2 separate regions of the Homo sapiens genome follow, and region 2 is linked to region 1. The links are contacts of gene promoters, found by promoter capture Hi-C in blood cells and fetal thymus (Javierre and others, 2016). All regions are on one chromosome and are shown on one strand. Each heading gives the region's core, a stretch centred on a gene start or on the middle of the fragment in contact. The rest is flanking DNA. Distances are from core to core; before and after follow the strand shown. Region 1 holds the start of FAM53B (family with sequence similarity 53 member B). Region 2 holds the start of HMX2 (H6 family homeobox 2).

Region 1 (7,656 bases), core at 2,148-4,647:
ATATTTTGCTAACATATTTCCAGTCACCTATCTTTTTGAAAATACTTAAGGTGGACTTGGTGATGTCTGTCTTCTCATAATTTATTATAAGCAATTTTAAAAAGGTTCTGCTTTTAAAAAGATCTTTTCAAATGTAGAAAGAACAGTGTGAAATGTGAATGACTGGCTTTTAATACAAGGGTTGTGACAAAGAGGCAGTGGCTTTTGGAAGCCAAATAAAGGGGTGAATACACGTGCATCTGCATACTGCTGTTGGATCCAGTGTATAACGTTTGGCGTTTGTTTAGTTCACTTGTTAGTCTAAAAAGGATAGTATGTTATTCTCTCAAACCAGTTTATAATTTTTTAGTGGTAAGCTCTTTTTACAACCATACCTACAGATAGATTTGATGGGAAAAACTGAACATTTGCTGGTACTTGTTCAAGCCTCAAAGCTCAGCTCTTTGTTTGAACGTCACATTTATCTGGTTCTAAAGGCATAAAAATAAAACACCCACTAACTACCTAAGACACTCCTTAGTGCATATCAAAACCCAACCTTTACCCTCGTCTGCACAAATGTGCTTAGGTGAATACTTTTATTAGCTTGTTGATACAAGTTATAGTAGGTTACACCCTTAATAAAACACACCCTTATTGTCATCCTGTTGCTTAAGAGCTTTAAACTTGTAATAGGGGAGCTCTCTAATATAGAATGATACTCAATTTCTATCTCCCAGGCAGTTTTGAGTGGAAATGTGTTGCACACCTTACACACAAGTGTGCCTCTATTTGGTAGTCCTCCTTTGGGAGAACTAGGATTGCTGTGTTTTATCCCTGGCTTTCATATATTTTTTGTTTGTTTGTTTGTTTGTTTTTTGAGATGGAGTCTTTTTCTGTCACCCAGGCTGGAGTGCAGTGGTGCGATCTTGGCTCACTGCAACCTCTGCCTCTCAGGTTCAAGCGATTCTCCTGCCTCATACTCCTGAGTAGCTGGGATTACAGGTGTCTGCCACCATGCCTGGCTAATTTTTGTATTTTTAATAGAGATGAGGTTTCACCATGTTGGCCAGGCTAGTCTCAAACTCCTGACCTCAAGTGATCCGCCCGCCTTGACCTCCTAAAGTGCTGGGATTACAGGCGTGAGCCACTGTGCCGGGCCGTCATATATTGGTCTTGATGTAAAAGACTGCAAGTAATCCCTGCATTTTATATTTCCCAGGGTGTTCTCCGGCTTAATCAGGTTAGCGTTGGTTGGTGATAATGGAAAAGTTACAAGTAATAGTTTTTAGATTATTTATGGATTTATTCCTAAATTGGCCTATGAATTTGCATTTAGGTGTCTGGTTGTGTGCAAAATCTGGTTTTGACCATTTTGGATTGAACAAAGATAGACAGTTTAGCTCCATGTCCCCACCCCATTGCAGCTTTTACATAGCTTTAAATCTAGAGTTCTACATTTTTAGCTACTCTTCTGAATTGAGCAGAACTCTAATATAACAACAACCTTTTGGGTAGAATTTTTTCTTAGTAAAGAACTATGGAGCTGAGCACTAAGAAGTGAGGATGTTTTATAATATAGCTGTAGGATTATTATATCATGTGGGAAGAACCTATAGTATGGAAGGTTAAGTGTGACACAGGTCTTAATGTATGCATATCTTTTTAGCCTTTGGAGATACAAATCTAGAAAATGAGAAGTAACTATTTATTGGTTAATAGCATAACTTCTTAAGCAAGTATATTCTAGACAGCCTCAAGAAAGCCTCAGAACCAGAAAAACAGGCTGCTTTAGGTTGGAAAGGAGGTGTTACAGCAGAGGAACTGGCCATGACCACCATCCTTGGAATGTGAAACGCAAATCATCCTGAAAGCAACAAGAATAATGGTTGTAATAATTGTTTCCAGGCCTGGGACCCTGCATCTTGTTTTTTAAGTTGACCTGATGAACTAGTAATTGTAGGAATAAACTGAATGTTTGCCAGCAGGAGTCACTCTAGGCTTCCTAATAAAACGTTAGTAAATTAAACTCTGTCCTTAAAGCTCTGAAAGGCTGAGGTGATTGTGTGATATCAGATGGCTTTAGGGAAACACTGACTCTTTTCGTTAAGCATAGCAGCATTCTTAGATTATTCCTTGGGCCTTCTTTTGTTCACCATCGGTTCTTGGATCTTGTTCCTTTCAAGATTGGTCCTTAATGCATTTTTAAAAAGCAACGTATATGGGTAAGGATATCAATATCTTAGTATGCTGTATTCTGTATGTTAGCTCATTTTGGCTTTCTAGGATGAACTGACTCTATCCCACATCATGTAACTTGAAATGAATAGACTCATATCCTTTCCACTGATTGCTGTCCATTCTAATCATGCAGCAGAACTCAGTGGAGCGAGCTGTAGTGTGAAAGGAGATGTCAGTTCATGCTTTTCTGAAAAGAATGGGTCCGGTGTGATGATATTCTGAAATATTTCAGCAATAGCCATGAAATATAATAGTTTCCCAAGCACACAAAGCTCAAGAAGTTAATTGTTCATTTATGTTTGATACTGGGATTGAAACATTGGATTAAAACCAATTAAATGTTCCTAGAAGCAACAGAAAAAGTTTCCTTATTTATGAATAGAACCATTCAAATGGCGCAGACACAATCCATGTAAAGTAATGAGGTGTTTTGTTTTTTTGGCAAAGGAGAACACAAAACAGGCATAGGGAGTTTTAAAAAAACTTCTCTTTAAAAATCGCTTTTTGGATACAAGGTCAATAAAATAACATACACCAGTAGGAAGGAGTAATGGGAAATCTAGGGCTTCACAAGGAAAACAATCCCCCTCCCCCAGGTGAGCAGCACAATGAAAATACTCTGCTTATTCTATCAGGGTTACATTCCTGAACTTAAGTCAACATCCTAAGTTACAGAACTAAACATGCTCTGCCTCTGCTTAGCAACCACAAATCCTTCCTTCGCCAGTTGCATGTATTTTGGATGTGGCTTCTGAAGTACACAGTCACAGCGCCCCGAGTTAGGAAATTTGCGCTTTATTTTCCCAAAGTGTGACAACACTTTAAGGTCCCCCCTCCCCGACCCCACCCGCCCGCTGTCCTGCACGCCACTGAAGTGATCGTTTCTTTTGAACCTCGGCATCTAACAACCCGGAAGCTGGACGCCTGAAGCCTATGCGGCCCAGCGTTTTCATCCCGGCTCGTGCTGGGGGCGGGGAGAGAAGCCCGTAGGGCCTCTGGCGCGGGGCCCGGGCAGCCGCGGTGGCGCGGCCCAGGCCCGGGGCCACTTCCCGCGTCCCGGGGCCTCGCAGGCGCGAGCGCGGCGAGCGGCGCGCGGCTGAGCCCGCAGGACGCCCTCTAGCCCCGCCGGCGGCGCGCCGCGAGTCCCTCACTCCCCGCCCATCGGCGGCTGCGCGCACTGCACACTCGCCTGCCGCCGCCGCCGCACGCCGCCTGCCTCCTGCACGCCGCCGCCGCGCCTAGCGCCCGGGCCCGCGACACCGCCCGCTAAGCGCCGGGCCGAGTTCACGCAGCCGCGGTCTGGCGGCTCCGCGGCGGCGGCGGGTGCGGGCGGCCTGGCCGGTGCCGGTTAAAGGGACGAGTTGCAAACACTTCAGGAAGTGACAAGTCGATTTCCTCCTCCCCGGGAGTCGCTCGTACAAAGCGCTCGGCGCCGGCAGGCGAGCGTGCGCGCGGCGGACGCGCGGCGGGCACCCCGGACGACTTGGCGAGCGCTGGCGGTGACGGCGCGGGGTCCGCGCCCGGAGCGCCCCGCCGCGCACAGTAAGCGACCCGGGGCCGGGCGGCGGCGGCGGTGGCCGGGGGGCTGGCCCCGAGCGAGGTCCGGGCCGTGTGCGTCCCGGCCGCTGGCTGGAGGGAGCCCGGCTCGCGTGCGCAATGGGCTTGCCTTTTTTTTTTCTTTTTTCCTAATGTTGCTGGTTTCCTTTTTTTCTGCCTTGTTTCGCCTTTGGGTTGGGTCGGGCGGTTTCTCCGGGCGCTCGGTCTCGCCCCTGATGCAGGCGTGAGACTTGTCAGAGCACAGGCATGGGGAAGAACAAGCCTGGCTGCGGCGGAAAAGTCTGCGCTCCCCAGGCCAGGGCGGGCGGGCGCGGGGACTGCTGCGCCCGGGGGTGTCCTCTCCGCGTCTCAACTTGAGCCCTGACTAGCCGCTGCGGAGGAGGCGCGGAGTCTCGGGAGCCGGGCGGCCCCATTCGCCCCGAAGTTCCCGCATCGTTTGCAGACAACTCTTTTGTTCGCGGAAGTTTGCACCCGCCACCCCCGGGGTGCGGGAGCGAGGCGGCGGGCTCCGCTGCTGCTGGACTGTCCGGGGCGGTCAGGATGGGGGTGAGGGGGCATTCTGTCCCGGGCGGGGGAAGCCCGCGGGGAGGCCACCGCTGGGGCTTGCGGAGTGGGGGCGTCCGCGCCGGCGTGGCTTTTGCACATGGCGAGAAGGGCCGTCCGGCACAGGCACACTGGTCGAGTCACATTTTTGCTAGTCTTGGATTTTGCAAGCCCGTGGGAGTCAGGTTCCCCGCTCAGGGTTTCTCTTGGGGCAGAGACGAAAGAAACGAGGACACCCAGAATCCGGGGAGGGTTTGCGGTTTGTGTTGTCCCAAGTGTGTTCTCGCTCCCCCCGCCCCCCCACCTTGTCCCCCAGCCCCCAGCTCTCCACCCCCATTTTCGGACTTGGGGAACAATGCTTGTAGTACGGGCCGGGGCGCCGCAGCAGCGACGAACCGCGCGGACAGGTTTGCCCGGGTCCCTCGCGTTCGGACGCCCCCTGAAGCCGAGCTCCTTCCATCTGACCGCCCGGGCTCATTAACACGTACTGTACTTAGGACGATGGTGAACAAAGAAAAGCTCTTTGCAGCGTTTGATGAATGGGATTCTGCCTCCTATAGGCCACACTCCGAGTCTTCCATACGGTACAATCTCCGGACTCGGTGGTGTTAGGAAAGTGGCCCCCGGAATGGCTTGCATTCCGGGTCTGGGATCCTGGGGTGGGCATTTGTGCCGTCGCCTTCGCCGCCGCGCTCGCCTTGCAGGAGCGGGTGCAGATGGAGCCAGGCTGACGGTTGTTCAACAGGAACAAATGTTTGTTCAATTGTTGGATGGTGGAGAAAAGGGACTGTTTCCTATTGACTGCTGCAGGAGTTGGAATGGCATTGTTTATTGGCCTGGGAAGCCAGGCAAGCGTCTTGTGCTGCTTACAACATATTAGCAGACTTCCAAATGACATGCTAGCATATGTGTTCCCAGCAGTCCCCACCGGCTGGCAGGGAGATTCCTCCTTGCTCCAGATCCTGGACTCGTTTAAAAGATGCCACCTGGTTTGAGGACTTGGGAAGGAATGGAGTCAGCCGACCAGGTGAAACTCACTGTTCCTTATTAGGCCAGGTTTTTGTTTCATTTTAATTTATCTATTTAAGAGTAACTTGTGTCAGTTACAGTTTTGATATTGAATTGCAGGTCTACAGGGTCCCCTCCCCCGCCTCTAGCTGTGGACTACAGAAACAGCTACTTGTCCCAGTTGATAGTCCCATTCAGTGGGAGAAGGTTTGGCTCAGGATTGGTAGCCCTTGACTCTGTGTCTGCACTTGGCTGTCACCCATCATGCGACCTGGGAGTCTGCCGATCCAGCTTCCAGGCGCTTTTTCAGGTTAAAAAGCTAAGGAGAGGCGTGGGGAAGGCCTGTATTTTTTTCTTCCAAACGTTCCTTCAGAGAACGAGGCGATTTAAATTCAAATAATGTTGCCCAACGACTTCCTATTTTCTTCTGAGAAGGTGAGATTCATGTGCAGTCATTTTGATATCAAAGACAAGTTTTTAAATAGAAACTAGCAACCTCACTGCTGCAGAAGTGGACTTGAATGTTCCAGTCTTCTCAGGACAAAGTAGAGAGCATTCCACTGTCTTGGTTCATAATGTTTTAAATCAGTTTCCCTCTTCTCTTTTCAACGTGGGGTATGTTGCACATAGCATTTTGAAAGTACGCAAAGTTCTTTTGGAAAGAGCTTTATGATACCTTATTGTCACCGTGGTGGTTACGCTTAATTGACATTTTATGGGAAGTCCTGGTATTATTTCCTGGGCTCTTTCTGTTTCCATCTTTTAGTCTTTCTCTTTCCCCTTATATATTCTCTCACTGCCCCGCTAGCCTCTCCATCCTCTCTACAGAAGCCTAGTGGGCTTGGGTTCCTTTAAGCGGGTCCAGTGAGCAGGCGCCTGACCCTTGATTGAAGCTCAGGAAGGGCCAGCCTGCTCTCCTCCCCTTTTGGAGGCCAGAGAGGAGAGAGCTGTGTTTAAATATTAGGAGCTGGCAGCAGGGGACGCTGCGGAGCTCTTTTAAAAAGCACACTCTTCTCACCCACCGCTCGATGCCTTGGGCCCTGAAGACTGAGTTCTGGGCCCACCTTCAGATTGTTCAGTTGATGTTTTATTTGGGCAGCGTGACTTTCTGCAGTTAAATTGCGCATTGTATGGAAAACTCTTCTGTTCTTGTCCTTAAATAAAAAGACTGAAATAAGCAAATACTCAGATCGGCACAACCCCCATCATTACCACCACCACGCACACCTCTCTGATGTGTAATAAAAGAAACCTGCAGGCATAATTTGTTATGTAATATGCTGATAATACAAGTTTCGGTTTTCGATGGAAACCAGATGTGGAGGGACTCTCTTTAATTGATCCAGCAAGGGGAAGACTAATAGATGAACTAGTCCTTGCAAACCCCAGTGGTGTTTTGATTTAACTTTAGGGGAGAATCCCGAGCTCAGGGCTTTGGAGAGGTTTTTACCCTCAGCTTCTGCTTTGCTGCAGCTGTCCTTTTTGTCAGACTCTTCCTCTTTTGAAAGAACCGGTTCGTTGCCAACACAAAGCACATGGCCGGAGCTGGCGGGGCTCAGCGAAGCTTAGCTCTGCTGGACTCTCCTCCTCCTTGCCTCGTCCGGCTGCTACCCTCCCCTCCACGCCACAAAACAGGGTCTGGCCAGGGGACTTGGGTGCTGGGAGGAGTGTTGATTGTTCTCCCTCAACTCCTTTCTGAAATGTCAGTCTGATCATCCAGGGAGAGTTTCTGTTTAAACTTGTCCAACGGATACACTTTCCAAAAATCATTGACTCTCTTTCTCTGATTAATTTGTTTGTTTCCTGCCTAAGTTTGAGGGTTTTTTCTGGATGGCTGAGTCACCTTTATTATGGCTCAAGGTTGGGGACGGCACTGTAATAGCTGACCCCATTAACAGCAGTTTCATTGCCTGCCTGGATGTGAACTTTGGAAACAAACCCAGAGGCTTAGATATGCTGATGTACCCTGAGACTTGCTTAGAAAATTTTTGTTGTAGCGCAGTTTACATTAACATGATTAATGACTGCGCCACTGAAAAGTCCATATTCAAAAGCAATTTACCGTTCCCTAGGGTTCTTCTTACAGTGAAGTATTTTTCTTTGCCAAACAACTTTGTTTTAAGGTAACTTCTTTGATGCTTAATCCAAACCTCCTGTGCACAGCGTTTTGGGGCAAGATTTGGGCTTCGTGTATTGCGGGTTGTGGTTTTGGTGGTGCCTGTCTTAACCTCACCGAACTTAGGTCAGGGAGAACTCGGATTCTTATCTAAGAAAGTTCTCTGAGATCCTGAGCAACAGAGTGCTGTGCTGGCTAGGATGGGAGGAAAT
Region 2 (7,656 bases), core at 2,301-4,800, 1.6 Mb after region 1:
AAGAGTTCCTCGAGCTTTATAGGGTGGCATCATTTCACAGGCCGTTTGTTTGGAAATCACGCTAAGGACTAACGCAGGACTCCCCTTCGTCAAATGTTGTAAAGAGGAACCGTCTCTGAAATGCACCATTGTCAATCATCTTGGAGTGCTAATCATTCCAAGGAGGAGAGAGAGAGAAAGGCAGAGATACGGAGCGAGTGAGGAAGAAGACTCAGAAAGAGATTACGGTGGAGACAGACTGCCCAGACCCGACTTGCAGATCTCCACCTCGTGTCCGGAAAGAAAGTACCAGATGTGCAGTGATTGAGGACAGCCGGGTGTAAGGCCGGCCGCGTGTCCCTCTCGCTGTGGTCCACTCTCTCAACAACTCAACCTTCCCCAGGAAGCCCAAGCCGGCACGGGTCTGTGTTCGCCTGCTCCCAGGGGCCCACCGGGCGGAGGAGGCACCACAGTGCGCGCCCCTCTCCCCGCGGTCCCGAACCCCCGGCTGCCGCAGCTCTGGCCAGAGGGGGCCCGGCGCGGGAGTCTTGGCGGGGCGCTCAGCCTCCCTCCCCTCGCGCTCGCTCGCTGCCACACTGGCGACGTGCGATCCTTACCCAGGCAAGGAAAAGGGATGGGGGGATGGTGCTTGGGGCCCTGCTCCTTAGGGCCGTGCTGGTCTGGGCAGAAGCAGGCGGGCGCCTTCCAGCCGTCGTCCGGCTCCTCCTCCTCCGAGGACACGGACAGGCTGCGCTTCCTGGCTGGCCAGCCGACGGGCTCCCGCGGTGCCTCCGAGGGGCCCCCGCCCAGGATGGACTGGATGGTGAAGCTGGAGACGCCACCGGCCGCCGGACACCCCTTGCCCGCATCTTCTTTGCTGCCCATCCTGGGTTCATAAGAAATCGAAGGAAACCAAGAACTCCCTTTAGAGACGATCTGGGTGATCTGGGTGGAAGGTGGTGCAGCAGGCAGGCAGTGGGGAGGGGCGGGGAGGAAATCTAGGGGGAGGGGGCGCCGAGGCTGGTGAGGCGTCCCTTCCGCGCCAGGGACATGCAGGCACCGGATGGCTGCGCAGGGGTTCCTGCCCGCCTGGCTCTGGGTGCGCCCGCCCAGCCCCGGTGCAAATGCCCCTTCCTCGCCCGCCAACTCGCCGGGTCTCCGGCGGCGCGGAGGCGGCGCGGCCTCATTTGCATAGAGGTTACCCGAACGCGGCCAATCGCAGCGCCGCCGAGCGGCCCCGGAAAATTTCAAAACGCTCCGGCCAGGCACACAGCACCGGTGCGCCCCCAGAGCGCGCCGAGGGCCTGGCGGGCATCAGCGGCGTCTAACCAGGGGCAGCCAGGGCTGAAAGCAGCTGCAGATTCTAGCCCGGGTTCCTGGCGGCTGCGGCAACTCCGACTCCTTGGACCCCTTGGACCCTTCTCTCCAGAGGCAGGGGCGGTGCGGGACTCGGAGCTGGAGTGGCTCGACGCCTCCGCAGGCGACGGGTCTCCGCGCCTCCCAGGGGCTTGTACAGGCTGCTCCACCATCCTCCCCCAGCCCTCCACCCCTTCTAGCCCCAGTGGGCGGGCAAAGCCGGCACTCCTGGGACCGTGGCGCCCTGCGTGGGGGTGAGGTGGGTTAGGAGCAGGCGTCTCCAGGCGGACGCTCATCCTCTCCAGCATGGCCAGGAGCCTTGGGAGCAGACATTCCCCTTCCCCGTCTGCAGACCTCATCCCTGTCACAGGTTCTACGGACCTACAGAATCTTTAGGGGGAGGGAGGAAGCCCTAAGACCTCTAGTCAAGAGATCTGGGTTCAAATTCCGGCACAACTATTTACACACTGCATGAACTTGCACAACTCATGCCGATTAAAGCCTCTCTGCCCTCATAGTTGAAAATAACTTCTCGGATTGCCTCAGGTAGGGATTAAAAGCCTCGAAGCACTAGCAGCGCATAGTAGGTACTCCATAAACCTGGCCGGGTAGCCCATGGCCCACCCGTGTTTTAAGCGAATCTGTGTTTTTGTTTTGTAAATTTTGAAGGTTTCCGAACTGCTGCAGAAATAGACGCCTTACTCCCAGGAAGAAGATAAGGAACTGGTGACAGGACTCGGTTTTAGAATTGAGCAGACTCGACTCAATTCTCGGCTGGGTGATCTTGGGGGAAGACATTTGGAAATTCTGAGGCTCGGTTTCTTTATTCCTAAAATTGGAGGAAGCAGTGCCTCCCTCGCAGAGGCTGTTGTGAGGTCAAACTACCCAGCACCGAGCCTGGCACACCGTGGTGCTCAGTAAATAGTGATTCCCTCTGTGTTCTCATAGCCCCCTTCTGTGCCCTGGCTCTCGCCCCTTTAATTCCTAGATCAGCTGTTACCCGAGCTAGAATTAGCCCAGCCAAGCAAAGCGGTTTGGGGCCACAGTCGTCTGCACAAGCTTCCTGGAAACTGAAGTGAGGCAAGGCCCGAAGTGCTCAGGCAACCCCGTCCCCTCAAGCTGTGACCTCTAGACCTCTTGGCCAAGAGATTCCAGAAGCCCTGTCTTTAGGGTGCCCCCCAAGTGCAGCCAAGGGTGAGTGGAGACTCTGGAATCAGTCCCCACAAATGTCCAGACACTGCATGACTGTGCAGTTCCTTCCTCGCCTGCACCGCGCCCGGGTTATTAAGTAAAGCGCTTATAATATCATTAGCCGCGGTGAGTTACCGACTGCGGCCCTGCCCGTGGCAGAACTCTTCCCTACTTAACTCCTCGAGGGGCTCGTTAATGGGCTAATTGATTAGGAGTCGGCCGCGCAGCCGGGGCAGGGGCAGGCGAGGGGGCGGGGGCCAGGGGGTGCGCGCAGCGGCCCGGGAGGCCAGCGAGGGGCAGGTGCCGGCCTCCGTCACCGCATTAACCTCTTCAGGGCTCAGCGGCAGGGTCGAGACACATTACAAATGGTCAGCTTTAATCATGGTGTCAGCTCATTAACCCGGAAGGACCTGGCGCTGAAATACAATTTGTGCGTTCTCCTCTGCGCCGCGGCGGCGCAGGCTCCTGGGCCACGTCGCAGCGGGTCCCGCGTGCTCCCGCGCTGTTGGGGGGTACGCGGGAGGTTCAGCGAAAGAATCGTCGGATTCTCACTAACCATCCGCTTCTCGCAGACATCCTGAGCTAGGCGCTGCCTCCGGAGCCAGGGTCAAGGCAGCCCCGAGGGGAACTGGCCAGCTAACTCGGGGAGCAGTGCCAGCCACCCCGCTGGGGAAGAAAGCTGGGGGCAGGCAGGGAAAGTTGGTCGAACCTTCCTGAACTGTAAATATGTCGTGCGGGGAACATGCTGGAAGCTCCCCAGCATTCTTCGCTTTAATCCTGATGGCAAACAAGTGACACAGATCTATTCACTCAATGTACAGGCCGGGAAACTGAGGCTCAAGAAAACAAGAGACTAGCCCAGGCAGACAAAGCAAGACTCGTGCTCAAGGTTGTTCCACTGCCAATACATCACATTTGGGAGGAGGGAGAGAGGAGCAGACACAGGCATTGAGCTTGGAGGATGGCTGCGGGGAAGACTGTGAGGATCCTGCTGACTCGGGATGGCGGGGGCGGGTATATGGGTGGGGCAAGAGCCCAAGGAGTGATCTCTGTCAGATCAGGGGACCTCGAAGTGGGCCTCGGAAAAGCAACTCCCAGGCCCTGAAACAGTGAGAGACTGGGGAGTCGACCCTTGCAAGAAGCCTGGCTTGCGGACTCTAAACAAGGAAGTTATGAAGCCTTGCGTCCCTATCTCTCCTTCCCCTAGGGATAGTTTGGGAAGTCAAAAAGATCCATCTTGCCTTGTATTTCCTCTGTCCCGTCCCTCTAATCGCTTCGAGGGTCTGATCTTCACCGAGGCACTTCCTCTGCTGCCACACCCGGCAAAGGACGCATTAATTCGCATGAAGGCACTTGCATAAACGCCTGCGCACACTCACACATTCATTCAGCAAACGTTCACTGAGCTCCTACTAGTGCGTGCACTTTACCAGGGAAGAGATGGTGGTGGGCACGGGGCTGGGGCAAGGAAGGCTGTGGTGGAGACCCAGCTCTGCAGCCTGACTGACTGCAGTTCCCCTGAGCTCCCCTCGATTGATAGCCCGAGGGACCTCCCGCCCCTCCAGCACCTATAGCCGTCACACCGCAAGGACGGGAGGGACAAGAAACAACCTTCCTTGCCGCCCCTTTCTAGCATATGGGGATCTTCACCGGGAGCACGGAGGCCCAGACGCCCTCTCCTGGGCCCAGTGTAGCTACAAAACTCACTCCCAGGAACACTCAGTTCCTGGAACCACCACCCACAGACACCTCATGTCTCTCCCCTAACGAGTGGCAATCCTTCAACTCAGTACTATCCCACACCCCGCCCACCTCCCTAGCCTTGGGATAGCTCCGCCCAATCCTACTCAGTTTAATACCCACACCTTGGAGGATGGCCCCTCTGCATCTTTGGGATCGACCCCCTGTCTCCCTCTCCTAGGAATTAGGCATAACCAGGTTCCAAGGAATGATAAACTTTCTGAGCCTGAAAGAACGCTTAAAGTTTAGGTCCCGAGATTATGCCACTGCTCAATATTAAAGCGGCCCAGAGCAAACTTGCCGAGGATCCTAATAAAAATTGATCCTCTCTGCTCTGCGGCAGTTGGGAAATAGGCTGGCTGAGCCGGGTAATAGAAGAAGGCTCCCTCCGAAATGACAGATGAAGTCATAAACAAGTTTGATCTTGGAATCAAGCTTCGATAAATATTAAACACAGTCTGCCCCCCCGCCCCCACGCGAGTGGATTATGATATATGGCGCGTCCAAACTTTAAAATAAGGAAATACCAGAGAAAATGATCTCAATAAATTTTCTAAGTATAAACGTTGATTATGTTTCGATTTTCGTTCAAGGGCCTCTGCTGTTCGTTCTTTGGTGCAAATGACATCTCACAATAGGCTTTTGGGGAAAAGGGCTCCCTATTTGAAAAAGAGAGCCCCAGAGGTGTACAATTTATGTAATCTGCTGCTGGAAAATGAATTGTGTAATTTATTGGAAAACAGAAAGTCATGAAGATTGGATCAGCATAGCCGAGTCCCGACACTCTCCACCCCCCTCCCCACCCCCCCACATCCATCAAGTTCCAATTAACAGCCTAACCAGAGAGCTTTAATGGGTTTCCAATCTAGTGGCCTGATAGACTCATCAATTCCTCTGGGAGAAATTAAGAAAATCGACCGCCCCTTGGCGACGCAGTGTCATTCCTTTCTGCAACTATATGTCAAATTAAAAACACAATTAAAATTTAAACTGTTTCAATCAAAGGGTGCCCTGCAACCTATGTTTCACTTAATAGAACTTTGATGAAAATCTGATGCGTGCACTCCATCACCAACGGGGGCGAGGGCGGTGAAGGAGCTCACGAAAGAAGGGGATTCTTTATATTTCTTTAAGACATTAGCGCTTGGGTGAGGCACAGCAGGTGACTCCACCTCACCGCTCCTGCCTCAGTGATAGGCGCAACGCGCTCTCTCGCTGGCTCTATACCTCTCCCAGGCCTAAACCCAAAGGGATCCTTTTGGAACCCCGGCAACTCAGACTTTGGGAAGTTTCCCCCGGAGATGCATCGCCAGGAGCAGCAGCCAAGGAAGAGATCTGCGCTAGTACAACTCATGCGCACCTCCAGGGGACTCTCGGAGAAGGCGCGCTGCAGTCTCCAGCTATCCCTTCCCTCGGGTCTCCAGAACCGCCCCGTCGCTGGAGTGATACCCTTAGGGGTCCTGGAAATGGAAGGGTGGGGAGGAATCCCAGGCGCATACATGGGCCCCAGTGAGGACGAGGGTTGTGTTTCTATCCAGGACCCGATTACCCACCTCAGCCTATGCTCCCCACCTCGTGCACCTTCAGGGTACTCCGCCGGAGAGACACACCGGGGACAAGTGCAGCCCAAATCTCAACCCCAGACTCCGATCGGAGACACCCGGCAGGGCTCAAAAGTACATCCCGCCTAGTTGTTCTCGTGGCTCTTTCCTCTCTTCCGCCATCCTTCCTCCGCTCCCCAGCCCCCAACTGTTTTCAGGTCAAAAGGTCAACACCATCCACCCTGCACAACGGCCGTGCACACTTCCAGAGTCCTAGGCCCAGAGGCAAGGGATCGCTCACACCTCAAAGCCCGGGTTAGGGGGTGGGGGACAGCGAGAGGGCGGGGAGCCGAGCGTGGGAGCCCTGCGGCTGGGTCCTGCGGGGCCACGTGTACATGCGGGGGCGGATGTTGTCCTCTGGGAGTGCCCGGCTGGGCTTTGGACCCCAAGCAGAGGTTTCTATGAGGCTCCTGGTTCTTACACCCTGACCCCATCGCGCGCACCCGGGTAGACAGGTCTTCTTAGCCTCTTTGCGGAGTCTACATTTGGACCGCTAGCGGAAGACGCCCCCTGGCTGGGTCACTGAGCCGCGGGAAGTGGACGACCCGAGTAAATGGGGCAAAATGGAATCGTGGAGGGCAGCGTAGCGCCCAGCAGAAGCTCAGGCCCCACGGGGACTCTTAAGGGGAGTCCAGGTGCCCCGCGGGCGCAAGGGGGTGAAAGCAGCAGCGCGTGGCCCTTGCGCAGGCGGCCGGACAACGCGATGCCTCTTCAAACCGCTTGCAGGAAGCAGCCGGCAGCACCGCCCTCCCGCCCCCAAGCCTCCGACCCTGGTCCCCATCTCCCAGGCCCTAGCTGGCCCAGAAGGCCGCAGAAGGGAAAGCAGATCCCACTAACCTTTTCGCCGGCTCCTCTTTCTCCCAACTCTACCTCCGGCCTCTCACACAAGAAGAGCGCACGCACTGGGGTTCTCACCGCGTGGCCTCTGGCTCTGCGGTGCCGGGAGCCTGTTGAGGGGGCGTCGCGGCTCAGAATGAGCGCCCGGTGGTGGGGGGGCAGTTTATATCTGTCTTTCTGTTGTTTGATGTACACACACCCACTCTATTTACTACCAAATAAAAGAAATACATCTGTGTTGCCAACAGAAACAGTTCGCGTGCTGGCTCTGTGGTCTCCCAGGGTCCAGAGGCCTCGGGGGTGCTCAGAGCGGCAGAGCCTGGCACTGTAAGGAGGCGGACACTGAGTAGGATCCCAGCCTACAAGAGCAAGGGGGTCTGCGGTGGGATGGTGGCAGGCTCCGCTAGTGTATCCCAGGTGGCTTGTGAGGAGGGACTTCGAGGCATCCCGGTCCAAAGGATGTTCACTAAGGCTTCCTGCAGCAGAGGTGGGAGCGCCACCTCACTCTGCCCAGTCCTTTCCCAGGATTCTCCCCAGCTTGCCTAAGCCTAAGGCCATCGGAGTAAAGGGTCACTTCGAACAAGATGTGTGTAATTACGTCTGTGCCTTAGCAATGGTGGTGATGCCAAACACATTTGTGATTGGGTATGCTAGGAACCCAAGGAAATGGTGTTAGGAGGTCTACAGTGTGTGGATGTGTATGGTGAGTGTTTATATCAAATGTGAGTGTATCCTCCTGTGTGTTGTTTCCATGTGTGTCTCTTTGGGTGATGCAGAAAGGATTTAGCCTGGAAGCTGAAGTCATTTGCGTTGACTTGAAGATTAATTGGGGTGCAGATGGGAAGAATCTAAAGCTAGGGTTGGCAAAGAGAAGCTGGGCTCCACAGTCTGAAGGAGGGGTGAAAAGACAAAATTGAGAGTGCCAGTTCAGTGTCCTAGGAGAGAGGACATG

What was found. Contacts are between HindIII fragments. The CHiCAGO score rates a contact against its expected background, and 5 or more counts as called.
Region 2: a fragment that was not itself captured here is called in contact with the fragment with the promoter of FAM53B in region 1 in 1 of 17 cell types (total B cells); the score reaches 5.8 in total B cells.

Annotation. Positions count from the first base shown.
Region 1 is chr10:124,740,119-124,747,774 of GRCh38, reverse strand. FAM53B (family with sequence similarity 53 member B) reads left to right here and starts at 3,397. Exons shown (of 5, transcript NM_014661.4): 1 at 3,397-3,762. RefSeq lists silencers at 3,159-3,298, 3,429-3,478, 3,499-3,608, 3,659-3,818, 4,139-4,348 and 1 more and an enhancer at 6,396-6,515. The HindIII fragment of the contact is 7,750 bases long and covers 1-6,894 here.
Region 2 is chr10:123,141,587-123,149,242 of GRCh38, reverse strand. It overlaps HMX2 (H6 family homeobox 2), which reads right to left and starts at 1,107. Exons shown (of 2, transcript NM_005519.2): 1 at 597-1,107. The coding sequence starts at 864. RefSeq lists silencers at 398-527, 918-1,237 and enhancers at 5,516-6,452, 6,453-7,389. The HindIII fragment of the contact is 2,307 bases long and covers 2,397-4,703 here.